2 separate regions of the Homo sapiens genome follow, and region 2 is linked to region 1. The links are contacts of gene promoters, found by promoter capture Hi-C in blood cells and fetal thymus (Javierre and others, 2016). All regions are on one chromosome and are shown on one strand. Each heading gives the region's core, a stretch centred on a gene start or on the middle of the fragment in contact. The rest is flanking DNA. Distances are from core to core; before and after follow the strand shown.

What was found. Contacts are between HindIII fragments. The CHiCAGO score rates a contact against its expected background, and 5 or more counts as called.
Region 2: a fragment that was not itself captured here is called in contact with the fragment with the promoter of ASPG in region 1 in 8 of 17 cell types (endothelial precursors, total B cells, M0 macrophages and 5 more); the score reaches 13.1 in endothelial precursors.

The regions. Positions count from the first base shown.
Region 1 is chr14:104,083,236-104,089,524 of GRCh38, reverse strand. ASPG (asparaginase) reads right to left here and starts at 3,825. Exons shown (of 16, transcript NM_001080464.3): 1 at 3,673-3,825. The coding sequence starts at 3,754. LOC124903408 reads right to left here. Exons shown (of 2, transcript XM_047432050.1): 2 at 5,830-6,289. The HindIII fragment of the contact is 21,966 bases long and covers 768-6,289 here.
Region 2 is chr14:104,622,598-104,628,648 of GRCh38, reverse strand. No RefSeq gene overlaps it. Among named protein-coding and RNA genes, the nearest start is that of TMEM179, 21 kb to the right of the region's middle. The HindIII fragment of the contact is 2,429 bases long and covers 737-3,165 here.

The DNA of each region.
Region 1 (6,289 bases), core at 2,576-5,075:
TTGTTTGAGACAGGGTCTCACTCTGTCACTCAGGCTGGAGTGCAGTGGCGAGATCTCGGCTCACTGCAACCTCCACCTCCTGGGTTCAAGCGATTCTCATGCCTCAGCCTCCCCAGTAGCTGGGACCACAGGCATCTGCCACCACATCTGGCTAATTTTTTTTTTGTATTTTTAGTAGAGACAGGGTTTCACCATGTTGTCCATGGCTGGTCTTGAACTCCCGATCTCAAGTGATCCACCCACCTCAGCCTCCCAAAGTGCTGGGATTACAGGTGTGAGCCACCGCGCCCAGTCAGCTGGGGCAATTTCTTTTGTTATTTTAAATAAACACCAGCTTTCAGCCGGGCACGGTGGCGGGCGCCTGTAGTCCCAGCTACTCGGGAGGCTGAGGCAGGAGAATGGTGTGAACCCGGGAGGCAGAGCTTGCAGTGAGCTGAGATCGCGCCACTGCACTCCAGTCTGGGCGACAGAGTGAGACTCCATCTCAAAAAAATAAAAATAAATAAAAAATAAACAAACACCGGCTTTCACACCTAACTATGATTTTGTAACTTGTATTACTTTTCTCAATGAGGGCCCTCCAAAAGCTTCAAGGGCTGCAGAATCTGAACCCTCCAGCCCTGCCTGGAACCTCTTCCTTGGCCCATCCAGGCAGGTGCCTGAGTTTGCTGGTGACTTGGAAACTCCTCAGCCCCCTGCCAAACACCTGGAAAGGAGGCTTTGCTCTCTAAGACAATGGGCCCCACTGTCACCAGCGAAGTCAAGCTTAGGCTTAGAAACTTGTGAACGTGTAGCACCCATTCAGGAAGGAGGTCCAGGCCAAGGGCACAGACGCCACTGCAGTAACCAAGAAGCCATGGGCATCACTCCACTGACACTCTCGACTGCTGGGACCCGTGTGGTCACCGGGCAGGGAGCTTCTCTCAGCTGCCTGGCCCCAGATCTCTGCCCTCCCTGCTGTGCCTGCAAGGAGCCGGGCTCAGGAGGGACTTTGGGACAGGCCGGCAAGCAGGTGGGGTTCCCAGTTTGACATAGGAAGTCTTCAAGTTTCTCGGGTGTACAGAACGTGGCCACTGATGCCAGCTTGGGCTTGGGGTTATCAGCCGTGTTTGGATTCGCTATGCCCCTTGACCTGTGATAGCTTCAATGAACTCAGAGAAGGGATGGGTCAAGGGGCGTCCCCACTGGCATCACCTCTGCCCTCCCTGAACTCTGGCAGGGCTCCAGGTGTGCAGCGTTCCACCCACAGGTCACTGTTTACCAGCAGGCGCAGAAGCCGTTCCAACAGCGACAATCAAACAGCTTTACTAGGGCAAAGCCACCACTCCCCTCTCACCTCCCCAGGGAAGGCCAGAGCCCACGTCAGCAGTGTGGAGGGAGTAAATCATTGACGCCTGACAGTCTGGCTGCTCCAACCTCACGAGGGGTTGGGGGAGCCCATTCCTGCAGGTTCCTGGAAGTGGATGCCCCACATGGGTCAGCTAGCAACAGCTGGGGGTGACCTCGCAGCCACACGAGGACGGGCTGCTGAGCAGAAGCCAGGACCCCAGTGCACAGAGCACCAAGGGATCTCAGAAGGCTGCTTCAGGTCTGAAGACTGACGCCCCACACCCAATTTCCAGCCTCCAAGTCTCTTGTTTCCCACCCAGACACAGGACCTCACAGCCTCTTTCAGAAATGCGGTGCACGCGTGTGAGTGCACCCACAGGCTGCTGCGGCGAGCACGCGGGGGCCAAGCGAGACGGGTGTGTGGTGGGGTTACAGAGTCCACCTGCCCCTGCAGCTCGGACCACTCAAGAACTACATGTTGAGCTCAACGAAACTGCAGTTGGCCACACTCCAAGCCTGAAGGGGTAGCGTCAGGGGCGTCGGACGAGGCCCCACACAGAGTCCCCAGGTCCTGTCCCCACTCGGGGGCAGCTCTGGCAGGCTCCGGCCCTGCTGGGCTCCCCACTCCTCTTTCCTGCACCTTGCAGGGCTGCTCCTGGCCTGGCCCTCTCCCATCTTTGTCCTGCAGGCCTTGTGTCCTCAGAGAAGCCCTCCCTGGGCTGCCTCCAAACTCCACACCATCCACACACCCAGCTCAGACCCTGTTATCAGCCCACAGCCCCTACAGGGCCCTGGCAGATCCTGCCCCTGGGACTAGCTCCTTAATGCATGCCATCCCTTCAATGGCAGCCTCTCTCTCTAGCTTGTGAGGGCCAAGCACAGGAATTGTGTCACTCTGTGTCAGTGGAGTGTCACACAGGGGCGTTTGCCAAGCTGTGAATGACTTTGTTCCATTCACAGGCAGAAGGAGAAGTGCAGAGGAGGCTCCCGGCAGCCTGGACAGCCACGTTCTTGGGGACCTGAGTCCCTCGTGGACGAGCCCCACTAGGCTTTGTCTCCTGGGCTGGGCGCAGAGTGGGCCTCCAGAGGGGTCTGCACCGGCCACAGTGTGGTGGGTGGAATCTGAGAGCACCGACAGAGTGCTGGTGGCTTCTGAGCAGCCACTTCAGCAGAAAGGGGTGGCCAGGAGGGGCAGCTGCCAGGGAACAGGCCGTGAGAGGGGGTGGGGATAGGAGGGGCGGGGAAGTGGTTGGCAGATGGGCAAGGGACAAGAGAATGTTCTGGTCATGCCAGGGGAGGCCCTGGGCTCTGGCAGAGCCGGAGAGGGTCCCAGCCGTCCCAGGAGAGAGAGCTGCGCTGGACACAAGCAGGAGTGTGGGGAGGGGCCAGGGCAGCAGGGAGTGGGAGGAGGAGGAGTGGAAAGGGCTCCTGAGGGAAAGGCAGGCAGTGGCCCATGGAGGGTCGCAAACAGGTTCAAGACGGGGCGAGGGGGCTGTCCTGGCCCCAAGGGAGGCCCCACATCACAGCAGAGCCCATCTGGGGGCCCCAGGCAGTGTCCTGCCCTCCTGGGGAACACCCAGGCATTCTGGAGGCTCCAGTGCAACCGTCCTCTCCCCATCCCGGTGGCCTCAGGCTCCCCAAGCTACCATCCTTCCTGTGCCCAGCCCAGGCTGGCAGCACTGTGCTGGAGTACCACAGAGCTCGGTGCCTGTCCCAGGCCCTGACCCCACCCAGGCAGAACTCAGTCCAGACGCAATCGCTGGTCTCTGGTCAACCAGGTCCACACAGGGGCAGAGGAAGCAGGGCTCTGAGGCCACCTCGGGTGTGAACACGTGCGTCCCCGCAGATGCCAGGTAGCCCCAGTATCGTGCCAACCACTGCTGCCTGACCAGGACCCCAGGGGACGGGGACACCCTCCTGGGTGTCGCAGTTGAGGGGTCCTCGCAGCCTCCTAAGCCTTCTCCAGGGCAGCCTCCTAAGCCTTCTGTGTCCAGAGCAGGAGCGGCAGGCCAATGCCCTGGGGCCCTCCCGCCCCATATTCCAGGACTTCAGGACGCTGGCCCTCAGGGGCGCAGCGGCAGCACAGGGGGCCTGGCCCCAGGGTCGCAGGGCGCTCCCGGGAGCACCGCGACGGCGAGAACCCACCGCAATCTCCTCTGTCCAGGTCGGGGCTCCATGCGTGGGGACGCCGGTGGCCGGAACCGGAGGAGAGCGACCTCAGCCCGCACCCCCCATCCAGGCGCGGATTTGACTCCCCAACGACCCCCGTGGGTGCAGGAGGGTCCGAGGCTCCCGGTCGCGGCCAGGTCCAGAGGCCTACCCCGCCCAGGGTCTCGGACTCACCGCCGAGCTCACTCCGCATGCCAATGGTGCCGCCGGTGTAGACGGCCAGCAGCCTCCGCTCGGGCCCCACCGCGCGCGCCATGCCGGACCGGGGACCACGGGAGTGGACGGGGGTGTGCAGCGGGGACGCAGGGCCTGCGGGACTCAGGGACTGCGCGGAGGAGGCCCGGGGCGCCGGGGGCAGCCTGGGAGGGCGGGGCCGGCGGGGGCACCCACGGGGAGGGGGCGGGAGTGGAGTCTGCCCGGGAGGGTGGGAGGCCCCGCGGAGGCGGGCGGGGGCAGGACCTGGGGGCGGGGTGGGTCCCGGGGACTGTCCAGGGTCGGAGAGAGAGGCGGGGCCTGGCGGGGTGGGGGCGGGGCCTGGCGGGGTGCGGGGCGGGGCCTGGCGGGGTGCGGGGCGGGGCCTGGCGGGGTGCGGGGCGGGGCCTGGCGGGGTGCGGGGCGGGGCGCGGCCTTGGAAACGTGTAGGAAGAGGTGAGGTCTGTGAGGGCGGCAGGGGGAGCTCCTGCCTGGGCAGGAGATTGGCTGGGGCCTGCTTGGGGCTGGGGAGCGCCTGTCCAGGGACTAGGGGGCAGCCAGAAAGGCAGCGACAGGGGTGGGGCGGGTCCTGAGCCATCCTGCGGCCATTGGCCCTCCGTGGCGGCCCTGGGTGTTTGAGTAGCTGTGACATGTGGTGCCTGGCAGACCGTAGTGCCCGAGGCCCTCCACGACCTGAGCACAGAGGGGGCTCCGTGTCCTGTCAAGCAGCCTCCACAGCCCCGGGGCTCCAAGGCCGGCATTGCTGCCCAGGCCCTGCTGTCCCTCCTTTGGATGGCCAGAGGCAGGCAGAGCTGGACCAGCCCCTCCACATGTGCCCATTCACACACCATCCAAGAGAAGAGCCCGAGGGGCCCCCAAGGGCTGGAGCGGGACAGAGCAGGAGTATGGCCTTCTTGGACAAACACCGCCATTTTAGGTTCCCTTTGATTAAAAAGCTGCCTAAATCCAGCCCAAAACACATCAGCCCAATAGCTAATGTCAGCACGACCGTAAACCACAAATAACATCTCCAATCAGAAACATGCCAACCTCGAGATAACCTCCCCTCCGACCAGAGACATTCCAAGCCCGCAATAAACTTTCCCTCACATAGAAACATTCCGAGCCTGCGATAAGCTCCCCACTTCCTAAACCCTTAAAGATCCTTAGTCTGTAGGAGAGATGGCTCCTGACCAAAATCGGCCAGAAGTCCCTTTCAGGTTTATTCTCCAAAATAAACCTGCCTTTGTTGAGCCGCTTTTCATGTTTCTTTCCTCTTTCTTTAACTCCTACAGAGCCCACCCTCCTTCACTCCCATGAGAGCCCAGGAGGGCAGGGCACTGGCGGGTGCAGGGTCCCAGGAGGGTCCCAAGCTGCAGGCTTGCTCCCAGGTGGACAGAAGATCCGCGGCCTCCTCGTCTCCTGGCACCTTGACTGCCTGGGGCACTGATGCACTTTGGTGGGAAACTGTGTGTTGCCCCCAGAAGGCACCAGCATTTGACACTGATTCCATAATAAAAATTATTATTATTCTGTTGCCTGGAGGGCAGTAGCAAGATCTTGGCTCACTGCAACCTGTGCCTCCCAGGTTCAAGCAATTGTCTTGTCTCAGCCCCCTCCCCGAATAGCTGGGATTGCAGGTGCACACCACACCAGGCTAATTTTTTTTTCTTTTTTTTTTTTTGTATTTTTAGTAGAGACGGGGTTTCACCATGTTGGCCAGGCTGGTCTTGAACTCCTGACCTCAGGTACTCCACCCACCTCAGCCTCCCTAAGTGTTGGGATTACAGGTGTGAGCCGCCATGCCCAGCCCCATATAATTATTTTGATAACAACAGTGCAATAGTGCAAAAGTAATCTTGTCTGCAGAGAAGCAAAGGCATTCTGCCCAGCAAAGGTCTGTGTTAGTTTTCTGGGACTGCAGTAACAGAACGAGTGATTTACAGTGCAAGGAGGTCTACCTCTCACAGTTCTTGGGGGTGGAAGTCTAAGGTCAGGGTGTCACAGGTTGGTGTCTCCTGGGCAAGCAGATGGTGCCTTCTTGCTGTGCCTCACAGGGTCTTTCCTCTGAGCAGTCACGCATCCCTGATGTATCTCCAGATGTCCAGACTTTCTCTTTTTATAGACATACCAGTCAGATTGAATTTGGGGCCTCATTTTAATTCAACCATCTCTTTAAAGTCTACCTCCAAATACAGTTGCATTCTAAGACACTGGGGTGTGGGGGACTTGAACATTAGAATCTAAGGGAGACAATCCAGCCCATCACAGCCCCCTGAAAATCCAGTTTCAGGTCCATTTGCACAATCATGTCAATATTCCTCATCTGTAAGTGTCTGTTTCAGGACTTCTCTTCTGAGCTGGTCCTCACAGCTGCCTGGGCTAGGGAAGCTCTTCGACGCATGCTCACCCTGCATCCCTGTGAGCACCATGTCTGGCCCTTTCGGGAATCATCCTTTAACAACCCGCCTGCTACCATAAATTCTAGGAAAACTTGTCTGGGGCCAGGGCAGCCTTCACTGGCAATAATCCTCACTGGAGTGGCTTTTCTCCCAGGTGCAAGGAGCCCCATCAGGTTTCTGCTGCTGAAACCTTGCAA
Region 2 (6,051 bases), core at 702-3,201, 540 kb before region 1:
CCCAAAGTGCTGGGATTACAGGCATGAGCCACCGTGCCCGGCCTGCTGTTTACTCTTAATATATTCTCCTTGTCATGATGTTCTGCAGTTATACACTGAGATATAATTAGGAATGTGATTAATTTTATTTATTCTGCCTAGAACTTATTAGGAATTGTGAATCTGAGAATCCCTGTCTTTCATCAATTCTGGAAACCTCTCAGCCATTGTATCTGTGAAGAAAAGAATGACTGTGGCAAGCCTGAGACTGCTCACCCTTAGAAAGGCTACTCACAAGGATGGCCTTGGCCAAACATGGATTTCAGGAGGGTGCTTGTCATTTCTAGAACTGACAAGAGTGAGTGGCTCATTGTCTCTAAACAGTTTGTGCAAATAGTAAAGTTAGTTTATGCTAAACACCTGCTTTTCTTCTGGGAGCCTGGAGTTTTGGTATGTGCTAGGCAGGGGGTGCCTGTGTGACCAGCTGGAATCCCTGGGTACTGCAACTCTGATGAGCTGCTTTGGTAGACAATAACTCACCTGTGTCATCACAATTTGTTGCTGGGGGAATTAAGTTCATCTTATGTGACTATTATTAGGAAAGGAGTTATATTAGTTCATTTTTGCATTGCTATAAAAATACCTGAGACTGGGTAATTTATAAAGGAAAGAGGGTCACTTGGCTTATGGATCTGCAGGCTGTACAGAAAGCATGATGTTGGCATCTGCTCAGCTTCTGAGGTGGCCTCAGGAAGCTTCCAATCATGGTGGAAGGAGAAGGGGGAGTAGGTGCGTCACATGGAGAACAGGAGGAAGAGACTGAGTGGGGAGGGGCTACATACTTTTAAGCAGCTCTATCTCATAAGAACTCACTCATCATCATGAGGACAGTGCCAAGGGGGATGGTGCTCAACCATTCATAGGAAATCCACCCCCATGATTCCAGCACCTCCTGCCAGGCCGCACCTCCAACATTGGGGATCACAATTTGACATGAGATTTGGGTGGGGACACAGATCTAAACCATATCAGGGCTCCTGGAAACTTGTGCCTTGTTTCCTCCAGATTTCACCCCATGAGACTTTTCCCTTTGCTGATTTTTCTGTGGATTCTTTTGCCGTGATAAATCTTAGCCATGAGTATGACAATGTGCTGGGTCTTGTGAATCCTTTTAGCAAATCTCATGTTTGGGGGTGGTTTTGGGGACCGGCACACGGTCTCTCAAACATGGTCTCAGTTCTATTCTCTCTTGGAGCTCCAATTAGAGATAAGGTAAACTTCATTCTTTCCTTCTTGACGCTCTTTCATATCTTCCCTCTTTTCATTTCTTTGCTCTGCCTGCTGGATGATTTCTTCAGACCTTTACAGATAGTAATTTTCTCTACAGCTGTGTCTTAACTTCTATGAATCTATTCACTGATTTTAAAAATTCTAATGACCATAGTTTTCTTTTGAATGTTTTTATAATTTATATATTTATTCATTATTCCTTCAATTATTTATAGCAGTATAGACCCATGAATTCTGATTTTAGCTATTTTAGTTCAATGTGATTATTATTTATGTTGTTGTACAGATTTCCCAGCCGATGCCATTGGGAGCTACTTTTGGCCACCCCTGTGTTCTTTTGACACATCCCTCTCATTTTTTTGATTACTTCTGTAGTTCAAGATTATGATTTTTCCCTTCTCCAGTTATTTCTCCAAGCAGCTCTGGTTCTTTTAATAAATTTTAGTTACTTATTTATGTTTGAGCATGTGAAGCATTAACATGGTTCTAAAAGTCAGAACAATAGAAAATAAAAGTGCCCACAGTGTCTCTCCCCCACTTGCTACCCTGTTCCCATTCCCCCATCTTTTCCACTCCTTTGGTTTATCCAAGCCTCTATAGCCAAACAACCTTATATGTTTCTCGTTTATTATTCTTGTATTAGTCCATTCGTACACTGCTATAAGGAACTATCTGAGAATGGGTAATTTGTTAATATAAAGAAAAGAGGTTTAATTGACTGACAGTTCTGTAGGCTATACAGGAAGCATGGCTGGGAGGCCTCAGGAAACTTACAATCATGGTGGAAGGTGAAGGAGAAGCAAGCACATCTTCACATGGCTGTAGGAGAGAGAGAGAACAAAGTGGGAGGTGCTACACACTTTTCAAACATCAGATCTGGTGAGAACTCTATAGGAGATGGCACTAGTGAGGTGTTGCTAAACCTTTAGAAATCACCCCCATGATCCTGTCACCTGCCCCCAGGACCCCACCTTCAACACTGGGAATTACAATTCAACATGAGATCTGGGTGGGGACACAGAGCCAAACCATATCACTGTGTTTCTTTTTGCACAAAAGAGTAGCTGCATGTTTAATTTCCTGTTTCCATTTACTTCTTACACAAAGAGAGCATTCTATAGATGCTGTTCTGCTCTTTGCTTTTATAATGTAAAAAGTTCATCTGGAAGCCACTCACAGAGTTGAGTTCTTAGGAGTCTTTATCACTCTTTTTCAAAGCTGCATAGAACTTCATTGCATGAATGTATTATGGTTTATCCACTACTCTCCAGTTGCCTGATATACAGGGTTTCCCCATATAGGCTGCAATGAATAACTCTGGGCTTACGCAGTTTCCGTGTGGCTCCCCAGAGGTGGGATAGCCGGGTGGAAATGTGACTACAGGCCACAGTTTGGTAAGATACTCCAAATTCCGGCTGGGCCTGGTGGCTCACGTCTGTAATTCCAGCATTTTGGGAGGCCGAGGCCGGAGGATCACCTGAGGCCAGGAGTTTGAGACCAACCTGGCCAACATGGTGAGACCCCTCTCTACTAAAAATAAAAAAAAAAATTAGCTAGGTGCAGTGGTACGCACCTATAATCCCAGCTATTCGGGAGGCTGAGGCAGGAGAATCGCTTCAACCTGGGAGGCGGAGGTTGCAGTGAGCTGAGATGGCGCCATTGCCCTCCAGCCTGGGCGACAGAGCGAGACTCTGTCTCAAAAAAAAAAAAAAAAAACAACTCCAAATTCACCTCCTAAAGGCTTGTAGCAGTTTACACTCCCACTAGTAATGTATAAGAGTTACTGTTTCCCACAGCCTTGCCAACAGAGTATATTGTCATGCTTTGTAATTTCTATCCATATGAGAAGGTATCTTAGTGTAGGTTTTTAAGTGTGAAATATAATAACATAAAGCTTACCATTTTAACCATTGTAAGTGAACAGTTCAGTGGCGTTAACTACATTCATATCGCTCAGCAACCATCACCACCATCCATCTCCAGGCTAAAACTGTAAATTGTGTGTGTGTGTGTGTCTGTGTGTGTGTGTGTGTGTGAATATAAAATGCACCCACTGGCTCTACTGGAGCCGCTGTGTTGTTTAGATCTTCTGTGTTCTATGTGGCAGCCAGGGAGGTGAGCTGCTCAGATCTCCTTTCCAGAAGCATTTGTCTCTCTGCTGGAGAGGAGCAGTTAGCCAATGGCCTGCAGCTGTAGCCCCTTCCGGGGCTGCCACAATGCTTGCAGCAGGCCTTGTTCTTCCTGGGCAGCCTCAGGCAATGGCAGGGGCAGGCATGGGATGAGGACCTGGCCAGTTTTGTTCACCTGGGCCTTTCATGCAGTCTTTGCCTTAAACCTCCCCCAGGGTTGTTGAGACTTTGTGAGACATACGTCTCAGCCCCCGGCTCTGCCTGTCCAATCCTGTGCCTGCTTCACCTTCACCTTCCGTAGGTGCTGCCCCTAATGCACCTCTTACATCCTGACTTCAGCGCCTGCCTGCTTCCTGGCGGACACAAGCCGACCCACTTTACTTATTTTTTTGTTCCCTTGAGCCGCCTTGCTCCGGGAGTGATATGCTAACGTTTCCTATTGCTAGTTTGCTGCTATGACTCCTTACAGTTTCTGTGTTTTTGCTCCTTGAAGGTGGTTGCTGAGTTATTTTTATTTATTTACTTTTGAGACAGGGTCTCGCTCTGTCACCCAGGCTGGAGTGCAGTGGCATGATCTCGGCTCACTGTAGCCTCAACCTCCTGGACTCAAGCAATCCTCCCACCTCAGCCTTCCTAGTAGCTGGGACCAAGGCATGCCCACCATGCCCAGCTAATTTTCGTAGAGACTGGGTTTCGCCATGTTGCCCAGGCTGGTCTTGAACTCCTGAGGCTCAAGCAATCTGCCTGCCTCAGCTTCCCAAAGTGCTGGGGTTACAGGCATGAGCCACCACATCTGGCCCTGAGTTACTTGTTGCATAACTGATCTTTGCGTGAATCTTGTCTTTTTGCATTAAAAAGTCCTTCTTCGTGCTGCCTAAGGCTTTTTTGTCTTGAATTTTACCTTGCCTGCTAGCGTGGTCCCCATTTCTTTTCTTGCTGCATTTATATGACTCATGTACCTTCGTTCATCCCTTCAATTCCAGCATTTTGGATCACTTTACTTCAGCTGTGTCTTGAATACAGCATGTAGTTGGATGTCACTTGTGAGCCAAAGTGATTTTTTTTCCTGTGGTAAGTGAATCAAGCCCATGACTTTGTGATGGTCTAAGTGTTCACGTCCCCCCAAAATTCCTATGTTGAAACCCAGCTCCCAAGGTGTTGTACTAGGATGTGAGAAGGGCTGCCCATTTGGAACAGGATTAGTGCCCTGTTAAGGCCCTTGTTAAGGCCCGAGGGAACCGCTTGCCGCTTCGCCTTGTGAGGACACGTGGAAAGCACCCTCACAGGCATCGAATCTGCTGGCACATTGACCTTGGAGTTCTCAGCCCCAAGAACTGTGTTGCCTGTGAACTTCCCAGTTGTAGGTATTTGTTAGAGCAGCCTAACAGGACCAAGACAGATTCATGCATTCAGCGTCAGCTGTTATAATATTTTCTAATATGTGTATATCGTGACATTCGCCATGTGATGTGTAAGCTTTGCTCTTTCTTTCCTGTTATTTTTCTCAGGGGTTTGTATTTTTATTCTAAGGATTGCTTATCCTTTTTAAGTGCCCTTAGTTTCCTGTTTTCTCACCTAAACTTTCACCGTGGGTTTGTTAGTTTTGGGCAGTAACTAACTGTCCCCCTGATTGCCTGTGTCACCGTAAGTGAGCTGATGCTATTTTCCTCCTTCCCTCTCTCTTCTCCAGCGTTTCAAAGTTGCGATATTCCTACCTTGTCACTGCACACAACATTAGTTATGAACCTTTCACCCTCTGCCCTTATGATGCTCCTTGTGCTGAAGGAGCACAGTCATCTTTTGGGTTGGATGAAGTTAATATTCTAGTAGATTCTTCAAGAAGGGCTCTTGGGCCGGGTGCGGTGGCTCACACCTGTAATCCCAGCACTTTGGGAGGCTGAGGTGGGCGGATCACTTGAGGTCAGGAGTTTGAGACCAGCCAGGCCAACATAGTGAAACCCCATCACTACTAAAAATACAAAAATTAGCCAAGTGTGGTGACGCACACCTGTAATCCCAGGTACTAGGGAGGCTGGGGCAGGAGAATCACTTGGACCCAGGAGGCAGAAGTTGCAGTGAGTCAAGATTGCCCCATTGCACTCCTGCTGCACTCCAGCCTGGGCGTCCCAGTGAGAGACTCTATCTCAAAAAAAAAATAAATAAATAAAAAAATAAGACAAGGGCTCCTGGTTCAGAATGTTCTAAGTTCTTGTATTGTTAAAACTGTTTTCCATAGTTTTGATATTTGAAGGGAAGCTTCACTAGATATTGATATATTTGTATATCTATGCTTATCTATTTCATCCTGTTATAGGACAAGGGGTCCTGATCCAGACTCGAAGAGAGGGTTCGTGGATCTCACACAAGAAAGAATTCAGGGCGAGCCCACAGTGCAAAGTAAAAGCGAGCTTATTAAGGAAGTAAAGTGGTAAAAGGACAGCTACTTCGTAGACAGAGTAGAGCGTTCCCGAAAGTAAGAGGAGGAACGCGTCCACCCTAGGTACAATGCTGGTATATATGGGGAGATGCGCTCTGCTACAAGGGTTTGTGATAAAGAATTAATTTTCTTAATTGCTATATTTTGCAAGGATTGATATTATTACCTTTAAAGCAAAATTAGGAATGCCGTTGTTCTCTAGATATTGGGATAGCC